Regions from separate parts of the Homo sapiens genome. Here all the other regions are linked to region 1. The links are contacts of gene promoters, found by promoter capture Hi-C in blood cells and fetal thymus (Javierre and others, 2016). All regions are on one chromosome and are shown on one strand. The core of a region is centred on a gene start or on the middle of the fragment in contact, and the rest is flanking DNA. Distances in the headings are between cores, read along the strand shown. Region 1 holds the start of C3orf62 (chromosome 3 open reading frame 62). Region 2 overlaps USP19 (ubiquitin specific peptidase 19). Region 3 overlaps TCTA (T cell leukemia translocation altered).

Region 1 (4,558 bases), core at 1,366-3,865:
CAGGTTCAAGTGATTCTCCTGCCTCAGCCTCCTGAGTAGCTGGGATTACAGGCGCCTGCCACCACGCCCAGCTAATTTTTGTATTTTTAGTAGAGATGGGGGTTTCACCATGTTGGCCAGGCTGGTCTCGAACTCCTGACCTCAGGTGATCTGCCCGCCTCAGTCTTCCAAAGTGCTGGGATTACAGGAGTGAACCACCGCGCCTGGCCTGTTTGTTTTAAAGACAGAGTCTTGCTCTTGTCGCCCAGGCTGGTGTGCAAGGGCGCAATTTCGGCTCATCGCAACCTCCTTCTCCTGGGTTCAAGCGATTCTCCTGTCTCAGCCTCTGGAGCAGCTGGGATTACAGGCGGCCGCAACGGCACCCAGCTAATTTTTCTATTTTTAGTAGAGACGGGGTTTCACCATGTTGGCCAGGCTGGTCTCAAACTCCTGACCTCAGGTGATTCATCCGCCTCAGCCTCTCAAAGTGCTGGGATTCAGGCGTGAGCCACTGTGCCCAGCATTTTTTTTTTTTTAAGATGGAGTCTTGCTCTGTTGCCCAGGCTGGAGTGCCATGGCAAGATCTCAGCTCACTGCAACCTCTGCCTCCAGGATTCAAGCAATTCTCCTGCCTCGGCCTCCCAAGTAGCTGGGATCATAGGCGCGCGCCACCACGCTCGGCTTATGTTTGTATTTTTAGTGGAGACGGGGTTTCACCAGACCTCAAGCGATCCACCCACCTCAGCCTCCCAAAGTGCTGAGATTACAGGCGTGCCACCACACCCGGCAAGGCCTGCACTGCTTATGAGTACCAATATAAATATTTGTGGAGTTGAAAGGAAAAAAATTCTTGTGGAGTTGAACCAATTAAATGGCCTCTTTATCCCCTTCCTATGAAGCAGCCAAGATGGCAGAACTTTGAAGTTTTTTTTTTTTTTTTTTTTTTTTTTTTTGATACGGAGTCTCGCTCTGTCGCCCAGGCTGGAGTGCAGTGGCGTGATCTCGGCTCACTGCAAGCTCCGCCTCCCGGGTTCATGCCATTCTCCTGCCTCAGCCTCCCGAGTAGCTGGGACTACAGGCGCCCGCCACCACGCCCGGCTAATTTTTTGTATTTTTAGTAGAGACAGAGTTTCACCGTGTTAGCCAGGATGGTCTCGATCTCCTGACCTCGTGATCTGCCCGCCTCGGCCTCCCAAAGTGCTGGGATTACAAGTGTGAGCCACCGCGCCCGGCCTGAAGTTTCATCTCATACATTCATCCCTTCTCCAAGTCAAGGTGCCTGGGACCAGGCAATTTCAAGTTACTCGGGAGAAGAAAAAGTCTAGAAGAGACCTGGTGATGGTCCAAAAAGATCTGGGGTAAGAGCGGGGAGCAGAGGCAAAGATGAAGCCAGGAAGTAGGGCCCAGCCTTCAATTAAGCCTCTCCCTAATGTGGGCAAAGGAGGGTATCAAAGGCCCCAGTGTCCAGATTCAAACACAGGAGTTAAGATGGAATTAAGACTTTTGTTTCTGCAACTTAAAAAATAAGGTTATTTTTAAAACCCGGTTATTTTACATCCACTACCCCTTTGGGTACTGCAAAGTGGTTTCCATGACTGGTTTTTGACATCAACGATTGACAACTAGCCCCTCAACTGGAACATATACACAAAATATAACTGTTTCCTAGGCCAGATTCTGAAGAATGTCTGTCAACTCCCCAAATGCAGTCACAGAGCTGCCAAGAGGAGGCAAGAGCACTGTCATGAACTAAATCTAGGATCTTCAACAACTTTTTCAGAAACAAGAATCCCCTTAATTGTAGCTGTTAAACCATCAAAATTAGAATCACCTTAAATTTTCTTTTCTCCAGTTTTCCCCCTCTCCTGCAGTTCTCCAAGACTCTCTTTCAGGTGCCAAAATGGAGGAATGCATCAATACATTTTCCTTGCTGGTTAGAGGTTTTCTCTCGGGGCACAGAGCATGTGGTTTTGCATTTACCGGGGCATGGTTTGTTGCAAAGGCAGGGTTCTCATTCTCAGGAGCACATGGGACAGCAGCAAAAGGAGCAGCAGAAGAGCAGGCTGCCAGAGGATGTCTTCTGCAGAGGAGCCTGTGCACGGGCAGCGAGAAGGAGAGCGGCGCGGCGCTCAGTTCCAGCCTCTGCTGGCCTGTGCACTCCTGGGAATAACTAACTCCTTCAAAGGCCCGGTCAATGGCTGCAGTCAGTTCCTTTCTGCATCTTCTTAGTTTTTCAGACATTTCTCCTAAAAGCGACCATGTCTTTATGTAATGCATTGGAAATGCACAGGACAACACAATAATGTTACAAATGAGGCTGCAAACTACCCCTGAATGGCCACGATTTCCTGGAGCTTGGCCCTGGCTATAGCAGGACCCACAACCCTCGGGCTTTCCTCCTGGAGTAGGCGGTTCTCGGCTCTCGCGGAGGAACCCGCCATCTGCCAGAAGCCCCAAAGACGCCCCGCCCCACTTCCCACAGCTTCCTGGCCCGCCCCGCCGCTGCCTCCCGCCCCACCGCGGCTCCCAGGCCGCTGGCCCTACCGGCACCCCCCCTTTGGCGAGTCGGCAGCCACGTCCTTGTCCTCACCCGCAGCGCAGTGACGCCGACCCATCCAACGGTCATCGCATGCGCGTGCCCCGCGCAGGCCCCAAACCCCCACGGATTAGGTTGAAGGTCAGACAAAAAATCCCGGACCCATACGTCCGGTTCCTTAAGGCCTTGCCCACACGCAGCGGCTGGCCCCGCGGTGGGAGTGGGGACGGGGCTTTCGAATGGGGGCCCCGGGAAGAGTCTTGGCAGGGATGAGGAAAGAACCCGTTCTAGAAAGCATCTGGGTAACACCAAAATGTATTACTACCCTAAATCGCCATGAACTGGAGCCCTTTCCCGGCTAACTCCCACAAAGATTTCTGTTCTCAAGCCAACATGGAAACAACTAGACGGGACACAGCACCGGGCAGTTTTATGTACTGACTTCCTTTAAGCGTTATCTAATAAAAAGTGTGTTATCTAATAAAAGTTCCACACAGTATTTAACCGTCTTAATTCATCTAGGGTAGCAGGGGATATAACAGAACTGCTGGGTTCCACAGGAGGTTGAGGGGCCAGGATCCCCAACACTAGATATCTTCCTTAGCGGGGAGAAAGCTGGAAATTACAAGATGACTCAACGGAGAAATGGGCTTCAGTGGGTAACTTTCAGAAAATTATAAACCCATATCAGTGCACATAGCGAGGGAAAGGGGAGTTTACTTGAGGTTTGGGTTACTGTGAGCAGACTACTTGGGGTGACTAGTATTGGCATCAGAACCAGAAATCCAGGCGCTCAGGGCAGCCCTGCAGGTGGGGTGGGTCTCCAGGCTGCTCCATACTCAGCGCCTGTGTTCCTCTCCATTCTTCGGGATCCATCAGACATACTCCATTGAGTACCCCCATCCCACCCCCTTTTCAGCTTCACAGGTTTCACAGAAATTTCTCACCACCTGTTTAAAAATAAAAATAATTCAGCCTCTTGACATAGCTTCTTCTAGGTAAACGGTCTTCTTTTTTTTTTTTTGTTTCCTTCTGCTCATAAAAGAAGGGTATTTCCTTGTCTGGTTTTTAGACAGAACACTAGCAGTCTGCAGAGTGTCAAAGATGTTCTCCTGGGGGATTACACTGGCGCTACAGGGTGGCAGGATCGTGGAGTCAGCATTAGTTGGTGTCCATGCTGCAAGCCTCATCATCCCCAAAGCCCTGCTGAGAGCTGCTTGGTCGTGTCCCTCCATCAGAGGAACCAGAACTGCTAAGTGAAGGTGTCTTATAAAATTCATCATCTCGACGTTGGTAAAATAGCACATAAGCTGCTTTAGTCTGAAATACAAGAGGGGGAAAGACCATTCAGTGCTTGGAAAAATCACCCATTTTCCCCAGCTTTTCTCTAGCTGTCCAAAACCCTCAAGGATCTGCCATATCCACACAGAGGAGACCCTTCCACCTGAGGATGGCTGCCCCTGCCAGGCAGCAGGAAATGGAAGGAGCCTTGTGCAGAGAACTCTGAGGAGAGCTGAGCTTCTCATTTATGAAGGTCCCTGAAGGAATGCCAGCCAGCTCTGTCACACCTAGCTCCCACTATCACATCAGGATGATGAAATAACCAACTAGCCTGATAGAGGCTCTTCCCAGCTTTAATCCATAACGACATGAGGAAGAACCACATATCATGGCCTACTCACCACTATCTGATCCTCAGAGGCCAGGGACACGTTGCTATCATCAAAGTAATACCATTTACCATTCAGTTTGTTCTTCGCATATGCAGTGTCTGCCAAGTCAACAAAGAAAATACTCTAGCGGTCTCCAGAGAATTAATCTGGCTAGCTTATTAGGCTTGCACTAAATAAACACAAAAATCCCCAAAACAAAACCCCTGAAATTAAAAAAGTTTACAGTGTGTGTCTTAACAACCAAAAAACAACTCACCTTCTTTTCTAATCTGTTCCTTCTCAAAAAGGATCAAAAGGCTAAAAATGGAGCTGTCAGGGACCAAGATTTTAAACTATAATTTTGGGAAACTAATAGAAAAAACAGAGCTAT
Region 2 (4,558 bases), core at 1,158-3,657, 170 kb before region 1:
CAGCATTTTGGCCTACCCTAAACAGCTCTCAATCCACATGCAGCTCCGCATGGAGGTGGGAGGGGAGTTATCTGGTTAGTATTTCAGTCCAGGCCTCCCCAAAGGACACCGATTCATAGAGAACAGGACTGCCAATCCCAGAGCAATCTCCTTGCTCCTTCCCACCCATACCCAGATCCTGACCAGTCTTCTGCAAGGATTTCTCTAAGCTTGACAGAGAAGGCTCAAGAGAGGATGGAGCCAGAAAGGAGACGGCCAGTCCAGAAAAGAGATGTGCCTACGCCCACTAACTGGGCCTATGGCACACCATGTCACTAAAGAGAAGATCCTGAAGGCTCAGCAAAGACAGATGCTTACCTCAAAGAGTATAACAGCCACCAGAGGCCATGGCCAGCCCAAATAGGCCTTGTCTTGAGTGCACACTAGAACTCAGGGACATCACAAGTGAGGGTGTGTGGGCCAGCATGTGGGGAATGTGCAGAGGAAATCTAGGAGAGTGTCAGGTATAGTTCATTCACAGCATAGTGCCCAGTGAGGTTCAGAGCAGTTGCCTGACCTGTGCCAAGTAGGTGCCAATGTGCTTGCCAGTGGCAGCATGTTAGTGTACTTGTATGTTTGTTAGTGTCCCCAAGGCATGGGGATGCCTCTGGCTAAAGCTTTGATGTTAAGAGAACTCTGCAATTCTCATGAATCCCAAGGCTCAATGGGCCTGTGGCTGGAGGAGAGGAAGCTATATCCCCCAACCCGGCCCCAGTCTGTGAACTGTCCCCCAGTATTCTGTAAAGCCTCCCACATGCCTCACCTGGCTGGCAGCAGCCTCAGCTGCAGGGCCTAGGTCTGGGTGGTGCTCAGAGTGACCTGCCCTGGGGGGCCTCTCCACAGGAGAGTTCCGCCGGCGGTAGAAGAGTACATAGGCATAACGCGTCACAACCTGGCTCTCGTCTACCGTTGTCACTGTGCTGTCATCAAACAAGCGCCAGCCTACAGCAGGGTGGGAAGAGTGTGAACAAAGTCTGCACCACCACCCCTACCACCTATCCTGCTGGCTGTGTGTGCCCTCACCCACGTCACTGCGCTGACTGCTACGATCATTGGGCAGGCGTGCACAGGCAGTGTAGTGGCCACCAATCATGCCTCCATAGTGGTTGATGACAGCATATAGATCGTAGCTGGGCAGCTGCTCCTCTTTCTGACCAATGCAGAACTTGCTCAGGTCCAGGTTCCTGCAGGTCAGGTCCAGTCAGGGAGGGGTGAGACAGGCAACAGGCGCTCAGGATGCCCATCCTGGTCCTCACACCCCACCCACAGTTACCAAGGTCCACTGCTTACCTAACAGGGAACTCCACCAAGTCATTGATCTTGTCACGCCAGATAAAACTACGAAAGGAGAAGCGCTTGAGCTGCACGATGAGAACATTTGGCAGGCGCCATAGCAACAGCTGCTTGGAGGCCTCACGGTGCTGTTTGCACTGTGGGCAGTACCTGGTGGGGACAGAGATTGGGTCAGGACCAGCAAGTCTCTCTCTTCTCCATCCTGCCCCCTTATCTACTTGCTGCTCTGTTCTCACCAGGCCTCCTCGGGTGCCAGCACCTCAGGCCGTGTGAAGAGGTTGAGGCACTGGTCCAGGGTGAAGTGGCCGGCCCGGGCAGCCTCACCGGCAGAGCCTGGATCCTCAGCACATTCCAGCTCCTTGGAGGCTACCAACACAAACTCCTGCAAGCGCTCATTGTTCCGCCAGACGAGAGCCAGGCTACAGTCGTCACCCAGCTCCAGTGGGGTGTCTCCTGGAGATTCGCAGGGAGAGAGGTCATGCAGCTGTGGAGAACAGCCAGCTCAACCCACCCCATGGCTCCCACCCACAGCCTCAGACACCTTTGTCCTCTAGCCGCTGCTCTCGGTTGGATGAATCAATTTTATAGATGAAGAACTGGGGTGTGTGGGCATTCATAGCTTCACTTGGATGCTGGTACCCAGGCACAGCAGCTGTGTGAGAACATGATAATCAAAGCTTCCCTGCCCATCAGGGCCTCACCAGGCCCACCAGGCCCTAAACAACAGCCCCCTCCATCCTCCCTTATCCTCCTCCCCAGCTTCTAGAGCCTTTCACTGGATCTTACCTTCGGGTCGGGACACCCTCTCGCCAGCTGGCAAGGAGCCAACCTCAATGGGCCCACTGGCCAGCATCTCAGAAGAAATTCCACTGGTGCTGGGCACAGGACCCCGGTCAGGGGCTGCCCACACCCGGGGAAGCCCTGTGTCCCCCTCAGCCATAGGGGTCACCAGCTGGAGCTCAGGTGGCTGAATGGGGTCTCTCTCGCTGTCCCCAGCCTCCAGGGAACCTGTGGAGAGCAGTGTGGTGCAGCCAGGGCTCTGAGACTCCAAGGCCATGCGGCCTGGCTGAAAGGGTGGCTGGAATACACTCACAGAGTACCTGGCAACAGAGAACAACGCAAGTAAGACTCCTGACCAGCCCATCTAGCACCTCTGCCCCCACCTACACCACTCTAGTCCAACCACTGGGCACTTACCGGGCATAGCCCTCTAGCAACTGAGCGAGGCGGGCATAAGTGAGGCGTGAGGCAGGTACACTGACCAGGAAGGGGTAGCCAATGTTCTCAGGTCGGCAGAGGCCCTTGTGGTCAGGCCAGTGGGTTTTCTGGCAGAGCCTGACGGGAAGAGGAAGACAAGGATAGGCCCTTAGCCCCATCTCCTATGACTCCATACTGGGGGCTAGTCATAGTCCCTGGGAACTGGGTACGCCAGCCCTGCCTCCCCCAGAGCCTGGTAAAGTAGGGTGGCAAGTAGAAAGCTTAAGCATATGTGCCTTGGTGTGAAGGGAAGGAGCAGGGTGGCACATGGAAGGTGGAAAGAAAGGGTAGGGGAGACCATGGGGGTCCTCACTGGTTGCAGTAGCCCACACGGTAGCACCGGGTACAGCGCTTCAGCTTTTCATCCTCCGACTGTTGCTTCCGCTGGCAGGCTGCACACTTGGAGATGGGGACGCTGGGCACCTGGGGGCGCTAGGGTGGGTCGTCTGGCTCAGCAAGACCAGGAAGAAGTGCCCCACCCACCAGGGCGCTGTGCCATCAGGTTGGCCCCCACTCACCTGTTGCACCTCTAGCACCACTACCCGCTCCTTAGCCAACTCTGAGGATAGCAGCTCAAAGCAGAGGAGCGTATCAGATGGGGACACAGTGTCCAGTGAGTGGGAGGGTAGGAACACACGATGAAAACGATTCTTAATTACCTGGGGACAGAGAACACACAGATCCCACGTGAGGATAAGCCCTTTCCCTAGCCCTGCCCCAGAGTTTAAGAAGGCTTGGCCCTGCCTTGGGTCTATGTGGGCAGTGGTGAGGTCTGTAGGCCCAAATAGGCTTATGCCTCTGCTGGCACCTGTCTCAGTGCCCAATGCCATAAGGAGCCTGGTGCATCAGAGGGCCTGAAAGACCAGGTGTGAGGCAGATATCAACCACACCAGCTCTCCACACTGAGGGACTCTGCCCTGCTATAACTAGCATAGCCTTATAAGACTGTAACATATTATCATGGAGGGTCCACATTCAAAGAGCCTCCTCCCCACTCTTACCCCTAAGAAAACCAACACTGTCAGGCTAAAGGCTAGGAACCCCTGGGGAGAGCTAGCACACACAACTGGGATAAAAGGAGAGAGCAGCAGGATAGAGGGAGAGGCAGAGCGAACATAGGGATAGTCCTGCAGCTCAAGCTCCTTGTCTAAAAAGGGAAATGCAGTTGGGATCCACCACCACAAAGGGGAATAAACCCTGATAATGGCTAGGAACTGAGGGCACTTCTGTTGCACAGAAAAAATAACAGCACATCGCCTGTTTTTGTACAGTCACAGGCATACTCATGTGTATGTCTATTTTTATTTTATTTTATTTTATTTTTGAGACAGAGTCTCACTCTGTCACCCAGGCTGGAGTGCAGTGGCGCGATCTCGGCTCACTGCAACCTCTGCCTCCCAGGTTCAAGCGATTCTCCTGCCTCAGCCTCCTGAGCAGCTGGGACTACAGACATGTGCCACCACGCCCGGCTAACTTTTCCTGTATTTTTAGTAGAGGTGGGGTTTCACCATGTAAGCCAGGGTGGTCTGGATCTCCTGACCTTGTGATCCATCAGCCTTGGCCTCCCAAAGAGCTGGGATTACAGGCATGAGCCACCACGCCTGGCCCTATTTTTATTTTTTTATCTATTTATTTATTTATTTTTGAGACAGAGTCTCACTCTGTCACCCAGGCTGGAGTGCTGTGGTGCAATCTCTGCTCACTGCAACCTCCACATCCCGGGCTCAAGTGAGCCTCTTGCCTCAGCCTCCCAAGTAGCTGGGACTATAACACGTACCACCATGCCCAGCTAATTTTATTTCTTGTAGAGACAGTGTTTCACCAAGTTGCCCAGGCTGGTCCCAAACTCCTGGGCTCAAGTGATCTGCCCACCTCGGCCTCACAAAGTGCTGGGACTACAGGCATGAGCCACTGTGCCCAGCCCATGTGTATGTCTGTAGATGCCAATGACTGTACACACGTCTGTGGT
Region 3 (4,558 bases), core at 1,589-4,088, 140 kb after region 1:
CTGAGGCATGAGAATCACTTGAACCCAGGAGGCAGAGGTTGCAGTGAGCCCAGATCACGCCACTGCACTCCAGACTGGGCATCAGAGTGAGACTCTGTCTCAAAAAAAATAACAGGCCGGGCATGGTGGCTCACGCCTGTTCCTAGCACTTTGGGAGACTGAGGAGGGTAGATCACCTGAGGCCAGGAGTTTGAGACCAGCCTGGCCAACATGGCGAAACCCCGTCTTCACTAAAAATACAAAAACTAGCTGGGTGTGGTGGCGGGCGCCTGTAATCCCAGCTACTTGGGAGGCTGAGGCAGGAAAATTGCTTGAACCCGGGAGGTGGAGGCTGCAGTGAGCTGAGATCTTGCCATTGCACCCCAACCTGGGCAACAAGAGTGAAACTCCGTCTCAAAAAAAGAAAAGTAATAACAATAGTAATAAATAAAAAGAATAAAAAAACTAGAGAAGGATGGCAATGCCGTACTAACATGGAGAACCAGGAAGAAGAATGAGTCTGCAGGGAGAAGGTGCTGGGCCCAGGGTGGGCTGTGGGAGACCAGCAGAGAGGTCTAGATTGTTATGTGACCTTACTGAGCCTAGCTCAGCCCCCAAGAAGGAGCTTGGGAGAGCCAATTTCAGCAACTGTTCTGCCCATGGAATAACCACTCTCTCTTCTCTCTCTCCATCACTTTCAGGGAAATGGCAGCAAACGAACCTCTCAAAACCCACAGAGAATAAGGGAAGGCAGCAGAGGGTCTCCAAGGGCATCACTGGGTCTGCTGGCTTCTACACTGGGTTCTGCTACTCCCCAGACCTCAGGGACAACTGCCGGGGGTTCAGGGTTGGTAGCAGGGAGTACCCAGTGCCTACAGGGCTGGGCCTCTTCTGCCTCTTAAGCCTGCTCCCTCACCCAGGCACTGGGCAAGTGAAGAGTTTGCCTGTACTCTTATCTGGGTGCCTTAAGGAGAGAGATTGTGTTCTTCCTCTCTCAGGGGTGATAACTCAGGAAGCCTCTGGGTTGGGAAGACCATCAGTTCTTTTGTCTTAGGTTTCTTTTCCTGTCCCTCTTCCATCCCCAAGATGTGACCCCATAAAAATTTTTCCTGAGTTGGCCAGGCATGGTGGCTCACGCCTGTAATCCCAACACTTTGGGAGGCTGAGGCAGGCAGATCACGAGGTCAGGAGTTCGAGACCAGCCTGACCAACATGGTGAAAACCCCATCTCTACTAAAAATACAAAAATTAGCCGGGTGTGGTGGCACACACCAGTAATCCCAGCTACTCAGGAGGCTGAAGCAGGAGATTTGCTTGAACCTGGGAGGCAGAGGTTGCAGTGAGCCAAGATTGCGCCGTTGTACTCCAGCCTGGGCAACAGAGCAAGACCCATCTCAAAAAAAAAATTTTTTTCCTGAGAGGAAGCCTGAGGTTGACCAGCTCTGGGGTTTGTAAGGCAGGTCTGTTTTCTCCTAGGCCCTGAGTTTTCTGAATCTCTGGTTTTGCTTTGTTGGCAAGGAGCCAGGGAATCCTGACCTGAGCCAGACCTTAAGCTCTATGGTTATTTAGCTGGCCATTCAGGTATAAGGCAGGGTGGTGTACCTGCTGGCACTATCCAGATGGAGGCACCAAACACCCACATACCTGGCCCAACCAGACTTCTCCCGTGAGCCAGGCAAAGGAAATTGTCATCTGCCAACTGTCCTACTCATATTCCTCTCAGTCCTTCTTGGGGGTAAGCTGATTACCTGAAGGACAGCTGAACCCCTGGGGTAGCCTCCTATCCACCACTGCTTAAGTGCCTATGGGAATGTGGGTCTGCACCTTGTCCCCTCATAGGATGGTACCAAGCATTTAGTGCACAGTGGCCCCATCATAGCCTGCAGCCTCATCATTTCCCATCTGGACCTGGTACAAATGCACGTCACAGGCTCAGCTCCTCCCCACTAGCATTTTCTCTACCTTCAAGAACCAGGCAGCCCTGCCATGTCACAATAGGCCAGGGGAGTTTCCAAAGATGTGGGTGGCAAATGCCCCTATAGAAACACCAGTACCTGAAAGCACTGTAGCCCTGGACCTGCCTCCTTCCCTCGGGGCCATACTTCTGTTTCCATCTGCTGGGCCACCAGCCACTTTAGTGACCCCTGCCTACTTCCTTCCTGTTGGATATCATACTTCCATCTGGCTGCCTTTGCTTAAGCCATCTTTGTGGTAGAGGGGCCCTGGAATTGCAGCTGTACTGAGGATGATGTTATTCACAGCCCCTGGCCCACCCACTAATACTACTGCACAGAGTCAGGATCTCACATTTCACCCCAGGCTCAACTGAGGATGTGGCTTATTAAACACGGAAGTGCATCGGTTGTTGTGGTTATTCAGACAGAACAAGGGTGTGCATGCACAGGGGCAGTGAGAGAGGGAACATCCTGGAAGCTGTTGCCCCTTGGGACCCAGATGCAATAACTTGCAGGGAGGGGAGAGGTGATGCAGCTCCCTGGAGGAGCAGGGATGGGGTGCCCAACAGGGGCAATATCTCCATTTTTATAGACTGGCCCCTTTCAAGGAGAACCTATTCCAAGCTTGTCTTGGAGGCCAGGAAGGCAGGCATTGGGTTGGCATTTCAGGAACCCTGTGAACAGAGAACAATGAAGCTAGAGACTGGCAAGTAAGAAGGAAGTTTAATTTTTTTTTCAGGATTCAGTGGAGTCCATTAATGCATACCAGGGGCAAAGATCAGCCCAGGGTAAGGCAAGTCTGGGAGGAAGCCCACCCTGCCCTACAGCAGCCCTGGAACTCAGAATAGGTGGTGAGTCTGCCATGGTTTGCTACTGGGCAGCACACTAGACCAACTTGGGAATGTGGAAGAGTGAGTCTATGTTCCCTCAGCCATCCCCAAGTTTACACACAGGCATAGCAGCCCTACTGTGAGTCAGCAATCATTCCTGACTTGCAGTAAGGACAATTTGCATTTACGGAAAGCAAACTGGAGGGGGTAGCCTAAGTCCGCACTGCCCATGTTATTACCCTTTGCAATGTGAAAAACCATGGTGAGGTAGGTTGGGCAGGTTTTATCCTCTCCACAAAGGTGAGCCTTTGCTCCACAGCCAGCACCTGGCAGAGTGGGAGAGATGGCAGAACCAAAGCTTCTCATTACCCTCCAGCAGGCAAGAGTAGGTCAGTGGGATCATGGACTGAAACAAGACATTGTGTGAGCTGGTCCGTCACTCAGAAGCAGGGTCCTGAAGGAAGCTGGAATGGCATGAGTTAGGTGGGGGGAATAGGTGGTGTGGCCCCTCAACCAGACAATTAGAATCAGCCTCCACCTTAACTGCCCACCCCCAGTGAGTTCTGCCTCAGCTTCTTGACTAACCCCTTGTAGGGGCAAAACTCCTGGAAGGGACAGCCCCACCCTGAGCCAGCTTCACTTGAGGGTATAGTAGTTTGTGGGCACAAAGGGCATCTTGCTGACTACAGCCATCTGCTGCTTCCGCCGCACCTCTACCAGCAGCATTGTCCCTGGACGACTGTACTCGCAGGGCACATAACCCATCGCCACATTCTTCTTCAGAGAGGGGGAGGGGCAGCCACTAGTCACAGTACCTGTCAAGCAAGCATAAGCCACGCATCAGCACCACCCTGCCAGTGCCCCCACCCTCCTGGGAAGAGACAAGGGTTTCCCAGCTTCCCTGGTCCACCTACCAATCTTGGTACCCTCCATGTTCAGGATGGGACTGTGTGCCCGCATGGGGGCCCCCTCACACATCAACCCCACACGCCTCCGCTGCACCCTGCCCTTCAGCTGGGGAACAATGACCTTGGCTCCAGGGAAGTCCATAGCAGCTCGGCGGCGCTTCCCTGGAGAATGACACATGAGACATAAGCCACAGCCCATAGAAGCCCTGGCCACAGGAGGTCCTTATGAGGTCCTCAAGTAACACACTATCTAGCATCAAGGCCCCTTTGCTTGGGCTACTCCAGGCTCTATTCCTCCCTTCACTGCCGTCAGCCAACCAACCACCTCCTATCCCCTGGAGGCCATGCTGCCCACCTGCCGAGCGTCTTCAGTTTCTTTTTTTTTTTTTTGAGATGGAGTCACTCTGTCGCCCAGGCCTAGAATGCAGTGGCACGATCTCAGCTCACTGCAAACTCTGCCTCCCAGGTTCAAGCAATTTACCTGCCTCAGTCTCCCGAGTAGCTGGGATAACAGGCACCCGCCACCACGCCTGGCTAATTTTTATATTTTCAGTAGAGACGGGGTCTCACCATGTTGGCCAGGCTATTCTCGAATTCCTGACCTCATGATCCACCCACCTTGGCCTCCCAAAGTGCTGGGATTACAGGTGTGAGCCACCATGCCCGGCAGCATCTTCAGTTTCTTTTTTTTTTTTTTTTTTTTTTTTGAGACGGGGTCTCGCTCTATCGCCCTGGCTGGAGGTGCAGTGGCGCAATCTCGGCTCACTGCAAACTCCGCCGCCCAGGTTCATGCCATTCTCCTGCCTCAGCCTCCCGAGTAGCTGGGACTACAGGCGCCCGCCACAATGCCCAGCTAATTTTTTTTTTGTATTTTTAGTAGAGACGG

Evidence for each region. The method cuts DNA at HindIII sites, captures the fragments that hold promoters and counts their contacts. A CHiCAGO score of 5 or more calls a contact.
Region 2: a fragment that was not itself captured here is called in contact with the fragment with the promoter of C3orf62 in region 1 in 1 of 17 cell types (M0 macrophages); the score reaches 5.2 in M0 macrophages.
Region 3: a contact is called between a fragment that was not itself captured here and the fragment with the promoter of C3orf62 in region 1, in 1 of 17 cell types (M2 macrophages). The highest score is 5.2, in M2 macrophages.

The regions. Positions count from the first base shown.
Region 1 is chr3:49,274,617-49,279,174 of GRCh38, forward strand. C3orf62 (chromosome 3 open reading frame 62) reads right to left here and starts at 2,616. Exons shown (of 3, transcript NM_198562.3): 1 at 1,811-2,616. The coding sequence starts at 2,256. USP4 (ubiquitin specific peptidase 4) reads right to left here. Exons shown (of 22, transcript NM_003363.4): 21 at 4,198-4,286; 22 at 2,528-3,835. The coding sequence ends at 3,677. RefSeq lists an enhancer at 2,230-2,299 and a silencer at 2,440-2,639. The HindIII fragment of the contact is 9,716 bases long and covers 1-4,558 here.
Region 2 is chr3:49,109,382-49,113,939 of GRCh38, forward strand. It overlaps USP19 (ubiquitin specific peptidase 19), which reads right to left. Exons shown (of 27, transcript NM_001199161.2): 18 at 3,108-3,248; 19 at 2,903-3,021; 20 at 2,530-2,667; 21 at 2,119-2,432; 22 at 1,874-1,984; 23 at 1,569-1,785; 24 at 1,330-1,482; 25 at 1,063-1,223; 26 at 803-981. Among named protein-coding and RNA genes, the nearest start is that of QARS1, 6.9 kb to the left of the region's middle. The HindIII fragment of the contact is 801 bases long and covers 2,008-2,808 here.
Region 3 is chr3:49,414,140-49,418,697 of GRCh38, forward strand. It overlaps TCTA (T cell leukemia translocation altered), which reads left to right. Exons shown (of 3, transcript NM_022171.3): 3 at 681-2,337. The coding sequence ends at 723. AMT (aminomethyltransferase) reads right to left here. Exons shown (of 9, transcript NM_000481.4): 8 at 3,679-3,834; 9 at 2,639-3,579. The coding sequence ends at 3,401. Among named protein-coding and RNA genes, the nearest start is that of TCTA, 4.0 kb to the left of the region's middle. RefSeq lists enhancers at 1,883-2,092, 3,519-4,237. The HindIII fragment of the contact is 564 bases long and covers 2,557-3,120 here.